2 separate regions of the Homo sapiens genome follow, and region 2 is linked to region 1. The links are contacts of gene promoters, found by promoter capture Hi-C in blood cells and fetal thymus (Javierre and others, 2016). All regions are on one chromosome and are shown on one strand. Each heading gives the region's core, a stretch centred on a gene start or on the middle of the fragment in contact. The rest is flanking DNA. Distances are from core to core; before and after follow the strand shown.

The links. The method cuts DNA at HindIII sites, captures the fragments that hold promoters and counts their contacts. A CHiCAGO score of 5 or more calls a contact.
Region 2: a contact is called between a fragment that was not itself captured here and the fragment with the promoter of SH3GL2 in region 1, in 1 of 17 cell types (endothelial precursors). The highest score is 5.2, in endothelial precursors.

The regions. Positions count from the first base shown.
Region 1 is chr9:17,575,724-17,581,214 of GRCh38, reverse strand. It overlaps SH3GL2 (SH3 domain containing GRB2 like 2, endophilin A1), which reads right to left and starts at 2,149. Exons shown (of 9, transcript NM_003026.5): 1 at 1,928-2,149. The coding sequence starts at 1,972. RefSeq lists a silencer at 3,139-3,337. The HindIII fragment of the contact is 3,241 bases long and covers 330-3,570 here.
Region 2 is chr9:18,189,580-18,195,218 of GRCh38, reverse strand. It overlaps a transcript of ADAMTSL1 not described here. Among named protein-coding and RNA genes, the nearest start is that of ADAMTSL1, 280 kb to the left of the region's middle. The HindIII fragment of the contact is 1,040 bases long and covers 3,452-4,491 here.

The sequences.
Region 1 (5,491 bases), core at 900-3,399:
AATGGAGCGCTCTATTTTTTAAGTTGGAAAAACTAAAAGGTCTAGCTTGGGTAACTTCTTCACAGCATAAGGGATAGTATTTTATACTAATAAAAATATCCTTTATGTCAATAACTATAATTTATTGAACACTTTATACGTGTGTTCTACACACTCGTTTCTCTTCACCTCAACCCTGAAGAGACAACGGAAATTATCATCACTTCAGCATGGACAGGTTCAGAAGTTAAATACTCTCTCAAGGTCAGAAGCAGCAGAGGCAGGATTCAAACCTTAGCCTTTCCCACTCCAAAGCCAAGACTCTTAATTGCCTTTGAGGGCACTAAGCTTTGCAAAAGAAATCTTTAGAATCCAAGTGGAAAAAAGATGTGTTGGTAAACGCAGTGCTGAGATATGCTATAGAGAAGTGACCAGTAGAGCAATCAAAAAGGTTAGTAATATCGAAGAAGTCCTGCCACAGAATTCCTGGGCAGCACATATGCTTGGTTCTGTAAACCTGAAAGAACTTGCAGTATAAAGTTATTAGAAGCCTTCCAAACTACATCAACAAACAAATCACTTACTTTCATAAACATGTCTGGCAGAGAGGTCACAGATAACTCCAATTATAATAGAAAAGCAAAAATAATTACATTAAGAAACATTTTTACAGAAATAGTCTTACTTTTCTTGATTTCCTAAGTTGACAGGTATAATTGATTCTATAAAGGCAAGAATGTGTGATGAAGATGATGCAGATGCGTGCAAACACACACACGACGGGAATTACATGCTGCATCTGTCACCCTAAGTTAACCAAGGTTCTGTAAAACACAACCCTCACCTTTTCTGGATGTGGTTCATAACAAGGCTGCCACTGTGGTAGCCTAGGAAAAACCTCACTACTTCCGAGAAATTATGAGAAAGCTCGTTAATTAAGGCTAACCTATGAAAAACTATTTAACACCAAATCATGAAAAACATTTCGCGGTAAGTCATCAAAATCCTTAAAGATCCCATAAATTTGAACCTATTTCAGAAGGATAAAAAAGTAGTAATCACACACATTATGTAAGAAATAGGTCACAGCGTAAGTATTCGCTTACTTGCCCCTATGTAAAATTCTTTGAGTCCAATGATTTTAATTATTAGAATCTAAATTAATCAGTTTTATTACAGTCACAGCTTATTAACCCCATAAAGAAAAATGGGCACATCCAAGATGCCAAAGATTTATTAAAAACAATTTAAAATACATGATGATTTTAAGTCTTCAACAATTTGGTTGTTTTAGGGAAATATTTAAGACCCGCAGACTGTTTGTCATGCCCTGGCCTCAAAGGAGTTTCACGACCGAGTTCTCCAGGTAAAAGTTAATGTATGCGGGTCCCTAAAGGAAGACCCCAGCCTTCCATTCCCCTGGAGCCTGCGGGCGGCGGGGAAGGAGGGTTCTGACAACAGGGTAAGGGAGAGGAGCGCAAACCGCCGGCCTCCGCCCCGCCACCCCCAGTGCGGCCACCGCTCATGCCAACACATCCCGGGAAAGCCGGGTGCACCGACTCCGCAAGGTCACCCGTGAAGAGGCGACTTTACATAATCTCCCACCGCGCCGCCAAGGCACCTGCGCGCCGCGGCAGCAGTGCAGCCGCGGTCCCCTTCCTGCAGCACGGGCGCGAGATGATGCGGGGGCGGCGAGCAGCGCTACCAGGCAGGACGCCGGGGACCCGCGGGAAGGCAGCGCGCACCAAGCCGGGGGCGGGGGACCGAGGGTGGACGCCCAGACCGGGGATGCCCCGAGCCGCCGCCTTGGCTTGCGAGGCGGGGCGCGGCCGGCGCGGGCGAGGCTCGGTGCCGAACTCCCCAAGCTGCCGCCGGACGGCCAGCGCCGAGCGCGCCCCTCGCAGCTTCGCCCCGGACTGCCCCGGGACGCACCTGCCGCGCGCCTTACCTGAGTGGCTTTATGGAACTGCTTCTTGAGGCCGGCCACCGACATGGTGCAGGAGGCCGCGCTGGCGGCTGCTGTGCGGGAGGGAGGAGGCGGAGGGGGACTGGAGGGCCGAGCGGGGCGGCGCGCTCCCCTGGCCGCCTCTGGTCGTGCCGCCGCCGGGGCTATGGGCGCGAGGGCGCGGAGCCTAGCGGGACACGGGCTCTTGCGGAGAAACACTCTGACGTCAAGGGCGGGTGATGCGGCCTCTTAAAGGGGACGCGGGAAGCCCCGCCCCAAGCGCGGGAACGCCCAGGCAGGTGCTGTGGCGCGCGGTACCTGGATGCTGGCGCCAACTGCGGGGATGTGGCTCAGCGGCACCCGCTGGCGGATCCCTAGTCAGCGGGCCGAGGACGTCCTCCTGTCCCGGGGTTGGTGTTCCTGCCCCCGGGGGCTGCGGACGGGTCGCTGCAGATTGGCAGCCCAGGCACCCGCAGGACTCAGGTGACTTGCTGGGCTTCCAGGTAGCCGCGGCGGCGCTGCCTGCAGACGGCCCTCCTGCCCTTTGAGCCTGGCGTCTCTGCGCCGCAGCCTGAAAAAGACTGGCCTTCTATCTGGGCTAATGAATAAGTCATTGCTCCTTCTATGCCTTGCCCTGACTGGTGGGTCACAGAAAACATTTCTCTGCCCTGGTTTCAATATCCCTTAAGCCCATCTTACCTTAGGGAAAGTCACACACGCGTTTTCCCCCTTGTCTGATACAATTTAATGACTTAAAAAGAAGAACAGGAACCCTTAAGCCTGGACGGATAAATAGAATTGAAGTCTTACTACAAAACTAGCGTTCAATCCTCTGGTTACAGAAATGAAAAAGCCCAAATGTGATCTTGTTGTTATGCTTGTGGATTTAGGGTTTCCGGTCCGATAAAAATCAAAATATAATGTGAAAAAGCATGATACTAAGTTATATACAGATGCTTCATATGTAACCAAGGAGGTATGGCTGGCTAAAGTGAAACTAATAGATGACTTGGGAGCAGAGCAGCACTAAATGCCTTCTGTGCTCTGGTACTTAACCAAGTCTGGTTTTTCTAGGACTGAGGAGGTGGTCAGAAAGAACTTAGACGCTGTCCCCGTATGTGGACCAAAGTGATAAGAAGGAGAAGCCAAGATGGGAGAAATTGCCAAGGATGTGTAGAGACTGCAAGGCCAAATGGGAGTCCTAGAAATACTTTTTCTGTCTCCGCAACTCCTGCAGCCTGATAGGAGCCACAGACCCATCCCCACTCTTCTAGGCACTGCGGCTTGGGCACAGGGTGAACACCTGCTACAAAAGGGTCCTCCATCCGTAGAGCTACCAGTCATGGTCCTTCTTGATAATGTGAACTGACACACACAAAGGCAGAGTCAAGCAGTGGTGGGCACTGGAGCAGTAGAGCGCATGGACTAGGGACGCAGGCTGCAAAGGGAGGCAGATGAAAGGAGCTATTCTCCAGTGTGGTAGCCCTTACCACTGTTCATATACCTTTCCCTACATGGCAGAATTGCACTTTCCAAACCTCTTGTTAAGTGGAGGCATGGTTACAAGTTTTGACTAGAGGTTTAAGAGGAAAAGTGACTGTCACTTCTGCAGCAGCAATATGAGATGTATGAGATGCCGCAAAGCTTTCTTTTCCTCGGCCGCAATATTCTAGAAAGCTGTGGTCTGTCAGCCAGTATCCAGAGTGAGACTAAAGCAGTGCAGAGTCCCCACCTGACGTTCAATGGGCATGTAGCATCAGTGAGAAACCTGAGTAATTTTAATCCACTGAGGCTCCGGTTGTTAGGAATAAACTTTTTTCTCTATGTTTCCAATTTTTAAAAAGGCTACCCATTACTTGCATAATAGAAAAAAAAGTATTTTATAGTTAATTTTTACTACCAGGTCCCTGATCTGAACAATAAAGCATTTTCATAAGACAGGGCTTTGTTGAAGCTGCCAAAAGATAGAGCAATTGATCTACAAAGTGGAAGGGCCTGGGATGGATAGGAGCTCTGCTCTCTAACAGTGAAAGGTGTGAAATGGGGGCCTGAATTGCCTCCTTGGAACTTTGAATACTTAACTGAGCCCTACATTATAAAAAAGGCAGTTTCTATCTTTCCCTGGTTCTTCATCCACCAACCTGGAAGTCTCATGCTGCTTAACTTCAAAGAAACTACCTTGGGAGAAAAAAACTACTTAAGGGCATTACATTAAATCCTTTGGAAACCATTGATTTAGTCGCCCAGGCATCCTCTGCACCTCATCTTATATGGTTTGGCTGTGTCCCCACCCAAATCTCATCTTGAATTGTAACTCTCACAATTCCCACGTGTCGTGGGAGGAACCCAGTGGGAGTGATTGAATTATGGGGGTGGGTCTTTCCTACACTGTTCTCGTGGTAGTGAATGAGTCTTACAAGATCTGATGGTTTTAAAAACAGGAGTGTCTAGTTCAACCATTGTGGAAGTCAGTGTGGCGATTCCTCAGGGATCTAGAACTAGAAATACCATTTGACCCAGCCATCCCATTACTGGGTATATACCCAAAGGACTATAAATCATGCTGCTATAAAGACACATGCACACGTATGTTTATTGCGGCATTATTCACAATAGCAAAGACTTGGAACCAACCCAAATGTCCAACAATGATAGACTGGATTAAGAAAATGTGGCACATATACACCATGGAATACTATGCAGCCATAAAAAATGATGAGTTCATGTCCTTTGTAGGGACATGGATGAAATTGGAAATCATCATTCTCAGTAAACTATCGCAAGAACAAAAAACCAAACACCGCATATTCTCACTCATAGGTGGGAATTGAACAATGAGATCACATGGACACAGGAAGGGGAACATCACACTCTGGGGACTGTTGTGGGGTGGGGGGAGGGGGGAGGGATAGCACTGGGAGATAAACCTAATGCTAGATGACGAGTTAATGGGTGCAGCACACCAGCATGGCACATGTATACATATGTAACTAACCTGCACAATGTGCACATGTACCCTAAAACTTAAAATATAATAATAAAAGAAAAAAAAAACAAACAGGAGTTTCCCTGCACAAGCTCTCTTCTCTTGTCTGCTGCCATGTGAGAGGTGCCTTTCACCTTCTGCCATGATTGTCAGGCCTCCCCAGCCAGGTGGAACTGTGAATCCAATTAAACTTCTTTCTTTTGTAAATTGCCCAGTCTCAGGTATGTCTTTATCAGCAGCGTAAAAACAGACTGATACATCATCTAAACCCAGCATTTGTATTGAAGCCACAATTTATGCCTGTAAAGACCTTTGAGATGTCACCTTTGAAGAAATTTGTTAAGCTCCTCCTACTAGCAAGCATCATGGTAGGAGATGCTGGGATTGAGAAGGGGAAGTATCGAGGCATGTATGGGCTGGACCTTGAATCCCAAGGGGTTTCCAGACGAGTAATTTGAAAAAAAAATCTTCCTAGGGACATTTATTGTTACTTGAATACAGAGGAACAAATACCCCAGACACTGAACAATTCTAAGCATGGATGCCATCTTTGGTTGCAAAGAATCTTCAACAGAGGCTTT
Region 2 (5,639 bases), core at 2,722-5,221, 610 kb before region 1:
ATTGAAGAACTAGTGAACTGACTACGAATTTTACTGTTTGATGGACACTGGTGGCTGTGACCCCTCATTCCTCAAAACAAACAATATAAATAATAACAGCCAACATTTATTGAGTGCTTACTGTATGACAGGTACCATATTAAGGGTTCCCATATATCATTTAATTTAAGCCTTTCATCTTATAGGAACTATTATGAAACAAGGACTGATTACTAGTCTTTCATGCATTCTTAAACTGGGCATTATGAAGAGGTAGCAATGCCATTTTTTGGAGAAGCTAATAACTTCTGAAAAGATGTATCTTGTGTGTCACCCACTCCTTGGTGTCAAGTACCTTAATCAAAGGATAGTCACAGCAAATGCAGACTTGGCCAGGAATAAAGGCGGGACAACTTGGAGAATGTGGGTGTACAGAAAGTCTAGGCAGGCTTGAGGGAAGGAGGAGGAAAAAGAAGAGAAGCAGGACAGGGGAGCACTGCTTCTCCTCTGCCATTTTGGTTCCAGCACTGGGGTTCTACAAATATCAATTTGTACAGTCCTAGACCCTGGGCCACGAGGCATATACACTGCTGGGACTGTTGAAAAAGCAAGAAGAAAAAGATGCTGGAGGGTGACCTCTGCAGCAAGAAAGCAAGATTCTTGCTCTTAGGAATCTCAACTCATTCTCCCTGAAGAGAATGCTTTCTATGACTTCATCAAGCTGGAATGGGAAAGCAAGACGGGTTAACATTGTTACTGGCACAACTAGGAGGACCAGCGCAGGGGACCATGAGATACAGGGGTCAGAGAGAGACAGCAGTGCCCTTGGAGGGTGCATGTTGCTTTTGTTAAATTTCTGTCCTCTTCATTTTCTGCTATAATAATCATGTGTTCCCCTGTCAACTTTCTCAATGTCTTCTCTACTGGTGTCTTCCTTTCTGCCTGTAAATATGTTCAAATCTCTTATTTAAAAAAATAACTTGACTTAGCCACTTTTTTATTCTCAGGGTTTAATATGCTTTTTTCTCCCCCCACGGTCAAAGGAGGAGACTAAGGTCATCACTTTAGCACTGAGTTCAAACAAATGCTCTTCTTTTTTTCTTCCTACACATCCTACTTCTCAGAACCCTATTTTTTTTCCAGTTACAGTTTCACTATCACTCCAACTGTCCTCTTCAGTAGGTTTATCAGTCACATTTCTCCCCGCCAAATTCAATAGCTCTTTTCTGCTATCATCATGGTTGTTATTATTACCTACAACAAAAAGAAGCTACTAAATAGCACTAAATTAGTATATGTATACAGTGGAGAATTGTAATGCATTTTGCCCATCCTTACAAGAAAATCTGATAAAACATGAGTGTGTGCAAACAATTTTAATACAGGGATTCAAATAATAAGGGACTGGGAGGATAAAGAAAAGGGCAGTCAGTCTTTGCCCCAAAAAACCCTAGGTTTATGGCATAGAGAGATCTGCTTCTCAAAGTCCATACAGGGACCCAGTGAAAGGAAAATTATGTGGCTATGGGAGTAGGCTGTCCAAACAGACGGCCTGTCCTTTCCCTTTTGATGAGTGTGACAAATTGTAGTTCTATTTTTCCTTCCATTTCCCCATTATCTCTTTTATTCTATTTTCCTCTCTTCCTTTCATGTCCTCACATCTGGATTTGGACATCAAAGCAATCTCTGAAATTTAATAGATAAAGGAAAAAGAGTGGGGAGGGAGAGAACCAGAGGAAGAGAGAGAGAGCCAGAAGAGGAGAGAAAGGCTTCTTCCAAGGCAAAGGAGCTTTTCTGAACAGCTCCATTGCTAGCAGAGGCACCATGGATCCTACTGTAACTGTTCCCGATTCCTCCTCTTCCCCTGCATATTCCATGTTATCATGTCCTCCCACTGTGGCTGCCATAAACATAATTTCTATATGATTCTTCCCCATTCCTAGTCAACTTGCATTCTATGTTGATCTCACCACTCCCAGGGTCATCTTTTCAAAACGATTTGAATCTTATAGTGACTTGACACACCTGTAGTGATTCTTGAGTTTGAATACAATCTTGAAAGTTATTTGAATCTGCTGGGGATGAGTTCTGAGAGGAATGGGAAACCCAAACAAGAGCAGCTTTATTTATTTATTTAGCCCAACCAAAAAAACCTGGAAAAGGAAATCTAGATCTAATACATTGACTCCATGGTCACTCATCACACTCTTAATGTCTTCAGCACATTTTTTTTGAAGTATTCCTTATATCGTTTATTTCTCTGGTTAGATAGTTCCTGTGTATATTATATATAAAGTTAAAATAGGAATTGCAGCAAGCAGAAATGATCTACTTTTAAAGTATATGTTTCATACAGTGCTTGCAATAAGCTGCTCAATAAATGCATATTGCATAAATAAAACCTACTAGGAATAGGGATATGAAAATACTCTAAGTTGGCCAGTCTTTTCTTTCATTCTCTAAAACCATGCATTGTATATTTTTGGTTTTGCACTTTTTTCTGTATTAATTCTTCTTATAAACAGTACTGTAAATGTTTTTTGAGTCTAGTAAAAGTGTAGTACTGAATATTTGCTAGGTGATCCAAAAATTATCCAGTAAAAGAAATTTAGAAATGTCTTCTCCAAAAATCATGGTTCAGTACCATGGAAAAACACTGGAGAATACTGTAGCTTCCAAAATATTATTAATTTTTTCCAAAGCCATTTTGACAATTAAATCATGGAAAGGTTCAGCAAGCTTAATACTCCACTCAACATTAGACACATATGGTAGGACGAATTTCTGAACAGCCCCATGATAGGCTCAAGTTGTGTTACATTTGATCTGTTTATAATCATAATCTAGAGAGTCAATTTGATATGACTTCTTTAGGGGATTTGAAGAAACTGAAATATAAGGAGATTTTGCCCAGGACAGAGAGCAACTTAATTTAGAATTTAGCCTTCCTGACATGCTCTAAGTGGTGATGTTTTCAATATCAAACAAAGTCTTAGGAAATAAATCTTTCATAGAAACACCATTATTGATTTATTGAAGCATAGAAGGATGAAATATAATAAGTCATTGCAAGAGTAGAAAGGTCAGCAACAAAGAATCCAAATATTCCTATTAGAAAAGTTAAATGGACTTAATTAATTTTAAGCATGAAGATAGCAACATGAGAAAATGACCATGAAATGTACCACTTTTAGGAAAGAATACCATCAATGTCAAACACCGTAACGATCATACCCAGTGTATTTCATTACAAGAAGATCTTAATTGCACTTATCAGAGGGCCAGTTACACAATTATAATTAAAGTAACAATAAGGTTTTCATTGCAAGATTCTAAGAATCCCTTTTATTACTCTCTTTTTCAAAGGCTCCCTTCAAGTGTTGTATTGTAACTTCATGAAATGGAGAGAGAATATGGGCATAACAAAATATTTTGAGAAATAAAGTAAGACAAGTCACTGGAATAATAAGCTTCACAAAGCCCTCTAAGAATTGATGCCAGTTACCACAATTATTTGCAGTCTTAAGTGATATACTAATAATCGGGCCTGGAAATTTGTGGAAGTTGGGCATCCATGCTGGCAACTGTGAACTTTAAGCTGGTAATTAGATTCAGGGAAGAAGTCTTCTTGCCAAGGCCAGAGCCTTTAAGGAACCTTCTTGGGTTCAGGGATCTGAGGCTCAGCTAAGGGCTCAGGTCCTGTCCAAGGTAACAGGCCACTTTCATTAGGCTGTAGGCTGAACTTGTGAGGTTCCTTCTCTGACGTTTATGCCTCCATGGATTGAAGAAGAAAGTGGCTTAGTGTGGTTGGTCTCTGTCGCCTGAGATGCCATCAGTCTCCCAGTTTCCTCTCTGGGCCTCCCAGTCAATGCAGGGCCTGTCCTCCTCAGTCTCAAGGGTTGAGGGTGGCTGGACAAGACAGGAGCTCTGGAGTGCTGAAGCACATCAACAGAAGCTCCTACTAGCAATTTTTCAGAGGGTGCATAGGAACAGGGGAAGGTCAAGCAGCCAGTTTCTTCTTTCCCTGACCCCTATCCCCGGGACCAGATGACTGCCTGGCAAGCAGCCACCCATACAAACTATCTAGGCCTGCTCATAAGCATTCCAGTCTGAACCCAGTCCTCAACTGGCACCTGCCAGCAGAAATATATGACCTAAATATTTCTTTTGGAGTCCTCTGCTGTTCCCTTTACCACTGTAAAAACAATTATGAGAGGATAATTTTCATCTGCTTACTTGTAACATCATTCTAGATTTCTTGTGGAAATTTGGATTATTTTGACACCTGTAGGCCAGTTAACAAGAAAACAAGTAGGTTCATGTGCCCTAGGGGTACGATGGAGCAAAACCCACTTCTCTGGAATGGCAAAGACATAGCGCCACTTATTGGTGGGTGGTCAGAACTGGTCTTTCCAGTCTTGTCATGGAATTTATGAACACTGATGGGAAGAACCAGCAGTTTGTTAAGCCAAGGAGAATGGTTATCAAATGGACGGGAGCAAACAATAAGCTTAATACTTAAAAATTAATATGCAATAATTATTTTAGTCAAATTTTTAGTCACATTTCAAACAACAGTTATAATTCTTCAGCAGGATTTATTTAATGGGTTCAAATTTGGAGAAAGCTGCTGTTAGACTCAGTGCGAGAAATCAATGCTTATCTTGTAAATAGCTGAATTATCTCCCAGTTTGGGAACAATCAATAAAAGCCTGGCTTGAAATCGGGTTGAAATAGGCACTCTGATTAACAAAATAAAGGACATAATTCAGACAAGCATAATAAGAGTCCTCTGTTTAAAGTACAAGAGTGTGCTGGTCACAATGACAGTTCCTAATCTCTCCCACTGAAAAGTGACTTCCATGGAATAAAGTCAGCTTAGATGGATTTTCCATTTAAATGGTCAAGGATTAAAAAGAGTTGGTTGGACAAGCGTAACTCATTCATATAACATTCCACTTAAAATACACACACACATCATGATATCCTTATGAAAATAAGCTGTCTTCTTAGTTGCTGGAATTTGAAAGCAAAAGCTGACACTAAACCATTTTGATTAATCTATGACATAGTTGGAGGACTATGCTACACTTCATTCCCCTGAATTTCTGAGCTTCTGTGACTATTGTATCACATTATGCAATGTGCAGTGCTGGATCCCCTTAGAGGTTACTTATACAAAAACATACATTTCATTTGAAACCTGACCAGGCTCATTCTTGTTCTAGATAGATTCATTATGACAACCTTTAATTGGGCAAACTGCCAAAAAGCAGCCAGTTTAACAGGCTCTTTTAAAATGCAGCACACAGACTAATATGCTTATTTGACTTACTTGTTGAGAATGACTTATTGAATAATACATGCTAGAGTACAAAAACCTTTCAAAAGGTAGTTCTCAGAGAGTTTAAAAGTCCACAGAACTGGCCAGCATAAAAGAAAGAAACTTGAGGAGTTTTTTTTAAAAAAACATATCTTGCCAAACACAGTTCTATAATAGAGTGGAAGACATGTATAATGGTGGGAGCTGAAGGAGTTAATTTCCTAGTAAAAATTAGTTGCTATCAGGCTTTTACCCTATACAGTTGCAGGGAGCTCCATGGATGAGGAATAAGAAGGGCATACATATTTCAAACTATGACATATCTGTAACTTTTAAG